Regions from separate parts of the Homo sapiens genome. Here region 1 is linked to region 2. The links are contacts of gene promoters, found by promoter capture Hi-C in human tissues and cell types (Jung and others, 2019). All regions are on one chromosome and are shown on one strand. Each heading gives the region's core, a stretch centred on a gene start or on the middle of the fragment in contact. The rest is flanking DNA. Distances are from core to core; before and after follow the strand shown. Region 1 has its middle 13 kb from the start of KRT6A. Region 2 holds the start of KRT74 (keratin 74).

What was found. Contacts are between HindIII fragments. The study calls those that stand out against the background at their distance.
Region 1: a fragment that was not itself captured here is called in contact with the fragment with the promoter of KRT74 in region 2 in 5 of the 25 tissues and cell types used here (bladder, heart left ventricle, heart right ventricle and 2 more).

Annotation. Positions count from the first base shown.
Region 1 is chr12:52,503,630-52,509,337 of GRCh38, forward strand. No RefSeq gene overlaps it. Among named protein-coding and RNA genes, the nearest start is that of KRT6A, 13 kb to the left of the region's middle. The HindIII fragment of the contact is 4,691 bases long and covers 1-4,298 here.
Region 2 is chr12:52,570,679-52,576,411 of GRCh38, forward strand. KRT74 (keratin 74) reads right to left here and starts at 3,165. Exons shown (of 9, transcript NM_175053.4): 1 at 2,629-3,165; 2 at 1,775-1,989; 3 at 1,266-1,326; 4 at 681-776; 5 at 1-155. The coding sequence starts at 3,099. RefSeq lists an enhancer at 1,590-1,759. The HindIII fragment of the contact is 9,071 bases long and covers 1-5,733 here.

The DNA of each region.
Region 1 (5,708 bases), core at 703-3,202, 68 kb before region 2:
GAGTCAGAAAATGTTCTCTGTGTTCCTATCTTTGGAAAGAGATTATAGAGAATTGGTACAATTTCTCCTGTCAATGTTTGGTAGAATCCACCTGTGAACCCATCCAGGCCTGGATGGGTAAATAAATAACTTTTGGAAAGTTATTTACTATTGGTTCAATTTCTTTAGTCTATTTTTTCTTGTGTGAATTTTAGCAGATCATGTCTTTCAAAAAATTGGTTCATTTAATTTAGGTTATCATATTTGAGGATGTAGAGTTGTTTATAATATTTCTTCATTACCCTTTCAATCCCCATGGAATATATAGTGATGTCGATTTATTCATTTCTGATATTAGTAACTTTGTGTCCTTTCTATTGTTTTCTTAGCCTGGCTAGAAGCTTATCAATTTTACTGGTCTTTTCAAAGAAATCATTTTTGGTTCCATTAATTTTCTCTATTAATTTCCTGCTTTTAATTTCATTTATTTCTGCTCTAATCTGTATTACTTTTTTCTTCTACTTATTTTGAATTTAATTTCCTTCTTTTTTTCTAGGTTTCTAAGGTGGAATACATGCATTCAATATAAATTTCTCTCTAAACTCTATTTTTGTTGCATCCCATAAATTTTGGTGTCATATTTTCATTTTTATTTAGTTCAAAATATTTAAAAATGTATGTTCAGATTTCTTCCTTGACCCATGTGTTATTCAGAAGTTTGTTGTTTAATCTCCATGTATTTGGGGATTTTTTTTTTTTTTTTGAGATGGTCTCACTCTGTTGCCCAGGCTGGAGTGCAGTGGCGTGATCTCGGTTCACTGCAACCTCTGCCTCCTAGGTTCAAGCAATTCTCCTGCCTCAGCCTCCTGAGTAGCTGGGATTACAGGCATGTGCCACCACGTGCAGCTAATTTTTGTGTTTTTAGTAGAGATGGGGTTTCACCATGTTGGTCAGGCTGGTCTCTCACTCCTGATCTGGTGATCTGCCCATCTCAGCCTCCCAAAGTGCTGGAATTACAGGCATGAGCCAACATGCCTGGCCGTATTTGGGGATTTTTAAACTATCTTTCTGTTATTGATTTCTAGCTTACTTCTATTGTGGTCTGAGAGCATACATTGTATGATTTATATTTTTTAAAAAATTTTAAGGTATGTTTTATGGCCACAGTGTGAATGTTCTATGTGAGCTTGAGAAGAATGTGTATTCTGCTCTTGTTTGGTGAAGTGTTCTAAAGGTGTCAATTATATTGAGGTGATTGATGGTGTTTTTGAGTTCAACTATGTCCTTACTCATTTTCTAATAAAAAATCAATATAAATATTTTCTAATATAAAATAGTGTTGAAGTCTCTGATTAGAATAGTGGATTCCTCTGTTTCTCTACCCCATTATTCCATTGGTTTTTGCCTCACATATTTTGATGCTCTGTTGTTAAGCACGTACATATTACGGATAGTTATATCTTGGAATTAAGGATTATTATTGACACCTTTATCATTAGGTAATGCCCCTCTTTCTTACTGATAATTTTCCTTGCTATGAAGTCTGTCCTGTCCCAAATTAATACAGCTACTTCAGCTTTCTTTTAATTAGCATTAGCATGGTATGTCTTTTCTCCATCCCTTTACTTTTAATCATATATGTCTTTATATTTAAAAATGGGTTTGTTTTAGACAGCATACTGTTGGGTTTTGTTTTTTGATCCATTCTAACAATCTCTATCTTTAAGCTGGTGCATTTAGACCATCACCATTTAAAGTTATTATTGATATAGTTGGATTAATATCTACCATATTTCTTACTGTTTTCTAGTTATTGCTCTTGTTTTTCGTTCCTTTTTTGTCTCCCACTCTTTTTTCATCTTTTGTGGTTTTAACTGAGCATTTTATGATTCCATTTTCTCTCCTTTTTAGTATATCGGTTATACTTTTTTTTTTTTTTTTTACTTCTTTCAGTGGTTGCCCTAGAGTTTGCAATATACATTTACAACTAATCCAAGTCTACTTTCAAATAACACTATACTGCTTCATGGGTATTGCAAGTTCTTTGAAATAACCAAGTACAGTTGACCCTTGAACAACATGGGTTTGAACTGCATGGATCCACATATATGTAGAATTCACAAGATGCAATATCCAAGTATTATGAAGGGCCAACTTTTCTTTTCATGTAGAGGATCCTACAGGGCTGACAGTGGGACTTGCGTATGCCAGGATTTTGGTATATGTGCAGGGTCTTGGAATCAATCCCTGGCATATACCAAGGGGTGACCGTATCGCTAATTCCTCCCTCGCATCCTTTGTATCAATGCTGTCATTCATTTCACTTACACATAAAGTATAAACATTGAAGACATTGTTGCTATTATTATTTTGAACGAACATTTATCTGTTAGATCTTATTTCTTCTCTAATGCTTTTCCTTTCTTTATGTAGATCCGAGTTTCTGACCTATATAATTTTCCTTCTTGGTGAAGAGCTTCTTTTAACATTTCTTGCAAGGCAGGACTACTGGCAACATATTCTCTTCATTTTTGTTTGTCTTGAGAAAGTCTTTATTTTTTCTTCATTTTTGAAGGATAATTTAGCAAGATATAGAATTCCGTGTTGCTGTTTTCTCACCCAACAGTAAATATTTTACTCCAGTCTTTTCTTGCTTGCAAGGTTTCTGTGAGGAAGTGAGATTTAATTCTTATCTTTGTTCCACTATAGATAAGTTGTTTCCCCCCCAACCATGGCTTCTTTCAGGATTTTTGTTATCTTTCATTTTCTACAGTTTGAATATAATATACACAGGTATTTTTTTATGTCTGACACTAATTTTTGGAAATTCTCAGTCATTACTTTCTCCAATATTTATTATGTTGCTTTCTCTATTTCTTGTTCTAGTATTCCTTTTACACAAGTTACATCTTTCATAGTTTCCCCCACAGTTCTTGCATATTCTGTTCTTCTTTTCTCAGTCTTTTTTTATTTTTGCTTTTCAGTTGAGAAAGAACTGAAAAAACAGTTCTATTGACATACCCTCAAGCTCAGATTCTAATGTCAGCTGTGTCTAGTCTACTAATGAGCCCACAAAAGGCGTTCGTCATTTCTGTTATAATGTTTTTTATCTCTAGCATTTATTTTTTATTATTAGAATTTCTGTCTATCTGCTTTCATTACCCATCTGTTCTTGCATGTTGTGTACCTTGTTCATTTGTGCTCTTAGCTTGTTAATCATGGTTGTTTTAAATTCCCGATCTAATAATTCCAATATCCCTGCCATATCTGAGTGTGGTTCTGGTACTTGCTCTGTCTTTTCAAACTGTTTTCTACCTTGAAGTATGCTTTGTAATTTTTTTGTTGAAAATGGATGGAAGAAACTGATAAATAAGCTTTAGTAATGTAGTGATGAGGTATGAGGTGAGGGGAGGTATTCTATAGACCTATGAGTAGAATTAGGTCTCAGTCTTTTAGTGAGCCTGCGCCCCTTGGCTGTGAACTTCACAAGTGCTTCTGAGGCTTTTTTCACCTCTTTAAGTAGGGTCAGCATAGCTGGAGGGAGCTGGGGTTGGGTATTTCCCTTTCTCCAGCTAGACCAGGCTCTGATAAAACCTCAGCAGGGCTGCCTGTGGTTAAATAGTTGTTCCTGACGGCAGACTGCCTTAAGAACAGAATGCTCTGTCTATTTCAAAATGGTTCTTTGTCTGCTCCCCCTACTGGAAGCATGAGATTCTTCTCACATTTTCTCTGTGAGGACCTGGTGGAGCCCCTGGAGTAAAACTAAGTATGCTTCTCTAAGAGTGGGCTCCCCTGGAATTCTCAACACTCAAACTTATCCACACGGAGCCTCCGGCAATTTACCAATTATGGCTCAGGGTTTTCTACCCAAATACTGGTTCCTGTGGAGATTTCTGCTCATGGGTTACTACTCTGGTAAGTTGGGATTCTCTGTAATTGCTTCTTTAACTCTCCAGTTGGAAGGCAGTGGTTTGCCCTGTAATCTTAGTTCTCTGACAGATGAAGAAGAGTTGTTGCTTTTCATTTTTTCCATTTTTTACTTTTTGTTAGAATGTAGTGATGACTTTCAACCTCCTGAAGTGCCAGACCCCAAACTAAAAGTCCCTCTAGTCTCTCTTGCTCTTTAAATCAGAGCTGAGGTTTTCTACCCTTTGTTTCCCCTCTGTGCTGATACCTGTTCCACTGAGCTCCCATTGATCACCATCAAAAGATCAACGGTCATTATCACACAGACATGCAAACATCCTTCTCATGCTTCCATCTTATTACAGATACATGAGTCTGCTGTAATTCTGAGATGAAAATGACATATGCCACCCACTAAAAGCTGAAGCTCAATCTGGGTCCAGCTGCAGAGGAGCAGTCCTCTCTTCAATTCCCAACAGTCCTGCCCATCATAACTACACTCAGGAGTTCCCATCTGACAAATAAGTTGTCCTTATCTTCCCTTGCAGTGTCCCTGAATGGTGTGTGATGTACCTTCTGATGCAGTCTGCATTTCTGCACTGCTTTTCTTTGCTCTCTTTGCCTTCTTTTGTTCTGTTGAATAAAGGAGATTGAGAATATGAACTTTCTGTTAGATTGCCTTGCTGACCATGTGCTGGTTTAGAAACATTCTCATCCCACAAACATTCCTCATCTTTGAGGAACTGCCCCTCTCCACACCGACAACTCACCATGCTCCACACCCTACTCTGTCAGTCAGTGATTCTGGAGGACACTCTGGGTGGACGATCACCAATGTTGTATAAGCCCCAAAAGCTGTTAGGACAAGTTCCCGGTGTGCCAGGCAAAGTCTGTTCTCTTTCCCCAGCTGAAAAGCTCCAGGACAGCAGGCTACTGGCAGGATACCTCGCCAGCCTCGAGTAAAGGCCAGACCCTTACCCAGATCTGAGAGACCAACTAGATGCCAGTTGGCTTGAGACTTGGAGCAGGCATTGCCATCCCAGTCACTTGTGAATAGGGTTGTTCAGACAAAATAGAGAATGCCCAGTTAAATTTAAATTTCAGATAAACAACAAAAAATATACAGTAAGTATGTTCCACATGTTGCATGGAACATACTTATACTAAAAAAAATTATTTATTGTTTCTCTGAAATTCAATCTGAACGGCACATCCTGTATTTTTGTTTGCTAAATCTGGCAACCCTGCCTATGAAGTCATCCTGCCTTTATATGGAATCACAGACAAGGGCACAGGTTGTTTACTGGGCTACTGCTTTGGATTTCTCCTGTAAGGGGCAGACAATAGACAAGGACCAAGCTTAAGACCCTTCCTCCAAATCATCCGCATTAACTAACCCATAGGTTGCTTAGAAGTCTTGTTCAGTTTCTAAATATTTTTGAATTGTTGAGATATATTTCATTACTGCTTTCTAATTTAATATGCCATGATCGTGGAACATAGTCAGTATGTTTTCAATATTTTGAAGTGTATTGAGACTGTTTTATGGCTTAGCATATTACTTATCTTTGTGAATGTCCTTTGTGAGAAGAATGCTGTTGTGGGTACTGTTTTGTAGTTCTTTGTATATTCTGAATACAATTTCACATATATATAAAAATTATGTATATATATAATATTTATATATATTCAAAATTTTGCGGGGTTGTGGCTTACTGTTTTGCTCTCTTCATGTTGTTTTATGAACAAAGTTTATCAATTTTTTAAGGTAAGCTTTTTTCTATCCCATTTAAGAAATTTTTGCCTATCCTCACTCCATAAAG
Region 2 (5,733 bases), core at 1,915-4,414:
TACAGGGCCTCGGCCTCGGCCTTGCTCTTCAGGGCGATCTCCTCATAATGCATGCGGACCTCAGCGATGATGCTGTCAAGGTCCAGGTCCCGGTTGTTGTCCATGGACAGGATGACAGAGGTCTCACTGGCGTGAGTCTGGATCTGAGCGATCTCCTGCATTGAGAGAGGAAGACAGATTCAGCAACCCCCTGGCTTCCCTCTTCTGCCCCATCAGTCTTCTGGGCCCATGGTCCCTGGCCCAATAGGCTGCTAGGATCCACGGGGACAAAGTAGGGGGAAGAAGTGCCCTCTGGGATGTGTCTGCAGAGCTGAGGGAGAGCAGCTAACAGCAGCAGGAACCCCTGCATATGGCAGATGCCCGCTGGCACATGCAGACGGGTGAATAATGCATTTTCCACAATTTCACAGAATCCAAGGCTCTGTGCTTTGTAAGACCTCACTGGGTTATCTTTTCCTGCCCGTGGGCAAGTCCACTATTGTATCAAGATCAATTTCCTCCTGTATGTATGGCCTCCAAGGACCAGCATCCTGCACTTCCATGGTCTCCTGGTGCAGGGTTTTGTACCTTTCTACCAAAACATCTTTCATTTTGTTGATCCTAAATCTCTCCTTTTGGTATCTCCCTGGAAGAGTCGGGAAGGAGGCAGGGTGAGGGTGGGGGGACAGGAGTGTCCTTACTGCATCATACAGACACTTGAGGAACTTGATTTCTTTGTCCAGTGAGTCCACTTTGGCCTGAAGCTCCACCTTGACTGCGTAGGCTGCATCTGCATCCTGCCAAGAGGCCCCAGAGTCATTGGGGGATGCAACCCTCATCCCACAGCTGCCCTGCCCAACTCCTGCCTCAAAGCCACCTGATTTTCTATTTTCTACCCACAAAGGAAAGCTCACTCAATATCAATTTCTTCTCAGGCTGCCTGAAGCTTTGGGAATAGGGAAAGGAGGATGGGGCAGCTCTGTTATGCCTGGAGAAAACAAAGCCCAGAGAGGTAGTAGGTTTCCTCAGGTCACACAGCAAGGTTGAGCTGGACCCGAGTTTCACAGTTCCCAGACCAGAATTCTGTCTGTCTCTGTCCATTTCCTGAGTGTGTGTCTTTCCTCTCCAACTCACTGGAGGCCAGGACTATGACTCCACCCTCACCAGGCACCAGCCCCCTCACCAGGCACCAGCCCCCTCCCCAGCCTCCTGGGCTGAAGTCCTGAGCAGAGTTGTTAAGATGGGGGTGCGAGAGACCCTAATAAGGAGGCTCCTCCCTCTCTTACCTTCTTAAGCACCACAAACTCATTCTCTGCTGTCGTGCGCCGGTTAATCTCCACTTCATATCTGCCAGCAGGGAGAGTAGATGGCCTTAGCCCCCTTAGCCAAGGAACTTTCTCTTCCTGCTGGCCAGGCAAATGTTTGGGATACAGGGTCCCTGCAGGGTCTCTGGGGTGAGCAGTAAGAGGCTAGTGACAGGAGTAAGATATCCCTGAGTTGCTTCACTTGTCTCCTAGTTTTTGCATGTTAGGAAAACACCCAGGTGCCTATTGGGCTCCCGACACCAGCAACTGAACATTTCAGTGGGTCAAGGAGCACAGGAACCGCTTCCTATCAACTAGGCAGGAAGTTATCATCAAAGAGGATAGGCCCTTCCCCCTAGCCAGAGAAAGGGATGTGAGCTCCTGACCCTGGTGCATACTCCCCCATCTCCTAAAAAATAATGGCACAGAGATCAGGTGAGCCCAGAGGCACGGGAAACATGGTCTGTGACCCTCGGGTGGAGCCTGCTCACCTCTTCTTATAGTCCTCCACCAGATCCCTCATGCTTCTCAGCTCCGAGTCCAGCCTCACCCTGTCCCCAGACAGTGTCTCCAGCTGCTTCCGCAGGTTGCTGATGTAGCCCTCAAGGATGGGCTCCAGGTTCTTCTTGCAGTTGTTCAGGTCCAGCTGCTGCAGCAGCTCCCACTTGGTTTCTAGAACCTGGTTCTGCTGCTCTAGGAAGCGTACCTGGAACCCAAATCAACAGACACCTGGAACCACAATGGGTGCAGTCATGCCCCCTGGACACACACCATTGACTCCCCAGGTTTGCCATAGATTGTTGTAGTCATTTTTGCTCATGTCTTGACTCTCCACCCTTGCCATTCCACACAAACTAGATCCTTTACAAGTGCTCATTTCCTAGCCTTCTGGACAAGGCATCACTGAGAACTCACTCAAGGAGTTTCCACAGCTTTCTTCTATTGCTCGGCCCTGGTCCCAGGAGATGTCCTTCCTTATGTCTCAACTAAGTGTCTCTTCCTGTACCATGAGCCCTTCCCTCTGAACACTGCTGGATTCTATTAGCCTTTCATGTTCTTGGAAGATCCAGCTGTCCTCAAGAAACTCATCACTTTTTTGTCAAGGAAGGGCTGCTCTTTACCCAGCTTCCCATCCTTCCCTGCAAAATCGCCAAAGAAGCCGATATATTCATGTATTCCTTTGTCCTCCGTGGCTCACAGACCTACTCTCCTTCCCTAATGGTGAGGAAGCCCTTCCTGAGGCCCAGCTGCACCTTTCCAGCCACAGTGTGCAGTCCATTCCCAGGCAGCAGGAAAACTGCTCAGGCCTCAGGGTGCGGCCTCATCCTCCTCCTATGAGACCCACCTTGTCAATGAAGGAGGCGAACTTGTCGTTCAGCACCTTGATCTGTTCCCGCTCCTGGGCGCGCACCTTCTGGATCTCAGGGTCCAGCTCCACGTTGAGGGGGGCCAAGAGGCTCTTGTTGACAGTGACCTGGTGGATGCCCCCAGGTGGGCACACAGACAAACATGCAGGCCCCAGGGCCACACTGCCAAACATACTGCCAGCAAAGCCACTGGCCCGGCCCCCTCCATACCCAGAGCCAGGCCTGAAGCCGTAACCTCCAGCCCGAACGCCGCCACCAGCCACATTGAAAGAAATACGCCGATTCCCTCCAAGGCTATAGAGGCTCCGACTGCCAAAGCCAGCGCCAGCCCCTCTGCCAGCTGCACAGTAAGAAGCCAGGCTACCCACAGCCTTCCTTGGCACCACTGCCGAATGCACACTGAAGTTGCCCTTGTCACCACTGGACTTGATGTTCAGTTGCCGACTCATGGTGGGAAAGGTTGAGTTGACAGAGCTGGAGAAAAGCAGTCTCCAAGGGGTAGAGAACACACTGATGGGGCACCCAGAGTGCTGCCTCCTTTTATCCCTGTTGAGCCCAGGACACCGGAAAAGGGCGTCTCTCCACTATCTCCTTTCCCCTGCTGATGGGCCAGGGGCCATGGGCAATTTGTAGAACAGAGATCTCCAAGCCCTTTGCAGCAACAAAGCTCTTCTGATAGCAAGTGGAATATGCTGCCCTTGCAGAGTGGAGTGGTCTAATTTGGAGTTTATCTGTGCTCCCTAATTAAGGACCTGAAGAGTTATCCCCTGAAGAGATCTCCTAGCTTTATTTTTCCAGTGCTACCTCCTTCTTGCTTAACCATCAGCAAGGAGCAGGGGAAATGCCTGGCTTTCCCCAGAGTAGACTCACCTGAAAAACCCCAGGTTTCTTCCCAAAAGAAACCATCTCTCTATTATAGGGTCTTGTGTGGAAGCTGGAATTTTTACCTCAGGGAAAAGAAGACATGGAAAGATGATTCTTCTTGGAAAGATGTCCTCAAAGATCTGGATCTGGGTAAGAAGCTCCAGGGTCCGTCCTTGGGCCATGCTAAGGACCACAGCTGTCTAGCAGTGAAGTGGACCCCAGGAAGGAAGAGGAATGACTCTGCAGCATCTGCATGCCCCCCTAGCAGGGATATTGTCTAGGGCCTTCTGTGTTGGGCAGGGCCTGGGTGGTGGTGACCTTGACATTGCCTTACAACCATGAGAACCTTTCCAGTCAGCTGCATTTCCTCCAGTTGGATTTTCTCTCCTGGATAAGATTATTTGTCCTACTCTAGGAAGTCAGGCAGGAGCTGGGATATTAGCCCCTGCACTCCCTGGGGAAACACCCTATGGCTGAAGTCACCAAGGAACAGGACCCCCTGAGTTTCACTCCCAGGTTCAGGGTGGGCTGTTCTGCCAGTTTCCTGGCAACTTCAGGGAGCACTCAATTTTCAAACAGGAAGTATCACTGCTTTATAGCTCAGGTAGTGTGGGTACAGTGCAATGTTAAAAAATTATTTCAGGGCTGGGCATGGTGGCTCACACCTGTAATCCCAGCACTTTGGGAGGCCAAGGAGGGCAGATTGCCTGAGGTCAGGAGTTTGAGTCCAGCCTGGCTAACATGGTGAAACCCCGCCTCTACTAAAAATACAAAAATCAGCCGAGCGCAGTGGTGCATGCCTGTAGTCGCAGCTACTCAAAAGACTGAAGTAGAAGAATCACTTGAACCTGGGAGGCAGAGGTTGCAGTGAGCCTAGATTGTGCCACTGCACTCCAGCCTGGGCAACAGAGCAAGACTCTGTCTCCAAAAAACAAAAAAAATTATTTCAAAGCTAGGTATCTGGCAGCTGCCCTCATGCAAGACTCTGACCACTTCCTATAACTAAACTGAGAACACTTGGCTTGTTTGGATCCAGCCGAGGGCAGAAGACAACTGCTCCCACTGCTGGGGAGGGAAAAGGAGAAGCTGACCTGGGCAGGGAGCGTGGAGCTTAGGCCTGGAAGCTGCCCCGGAAGAATTTCCCCTTCACAGGGTGTTTTCCTCTCAGCCCCTGAGGTAACGGTGGAAGGTCCTTCCCCAGGGACCCTGTCTCGGGGGGCTTTCCCGGCAGGGCCTAGCCCTACAGCACAGGAGCATGTAATCGAAGGGGTTGCTTGTGGTTTTCTAAGTCAGGTTGCAAGGGCAGCAGCAGGGGTGCCGCCAGATGCTGGGTTTGCCGCCCTCCTGTGCTGGAGTGTGCAAGACAAAAAATGGCGTGAGTTCCTTAACCTGGGGGTGACTGTCCTAGGGCCCCAGCCACCAAGAAGCCTGCAGACCAATGAGAGGAATCTACACAAAGAACTTAAAGTAGAGCCAAAGCTCTGGAATGACAGAAAAGCATTATGAACCACGAATCAGAGGTGCACTGAGGAATGGCTCATCTTGATTAGGGTTTTTGGGGATCTCCAGAAGCCAGGCTTATATTCCCAACAACGCCCACTACAGGTGCTGGCTCAGAGTAGTGGCTCAGAGGTAGTGGGGCTGGAAGTATTCCTTATGGCAGTAGTAGCAATAGTGGTAGTAACATCATTGTATAATAGTGATGGTAGTAACAGAAAGTGTTAACACTTATTCTTCACTTCACATGTGCCAGGCATGGGATGTCTACATGGGATGTCTCACTTAACCCTCTTTAACTAACTTCATTTACAGTTGAAGAAACAGAGGAACTTACCCATCTCACTCAACTAGTAAGTCAGAGCTGGGCCGGAATTCAAGTGCGTCTGGTTTCAAAGTGCATGTTCCTGACCATCGTGTTATGTGATAGAGATGGAAGTTAGTGGCAAAGATGCAAAGACATTGTGGTACATGTGGCAGGCATGGCAGCTGTGGGCTGGGGACCTTGTGCTTGTGTTTCTGTTGTTTTTGATTCAAGTGTGACATGAGGAGAAGGGGAGGTTGTTGCTGAACTAGGGGCTTGCAAAGGGTAGCTGCTCAAGATAAGACATCACTCTAGGTTCAGAGAGAAAATCAGCCACAGCAAGGATGGGCAGGGGGAAGGAAGAGACTTGCTTTCATGAGCGGCTGTTTTATTCTAGAATCACCAGCAGCTGGCCCTT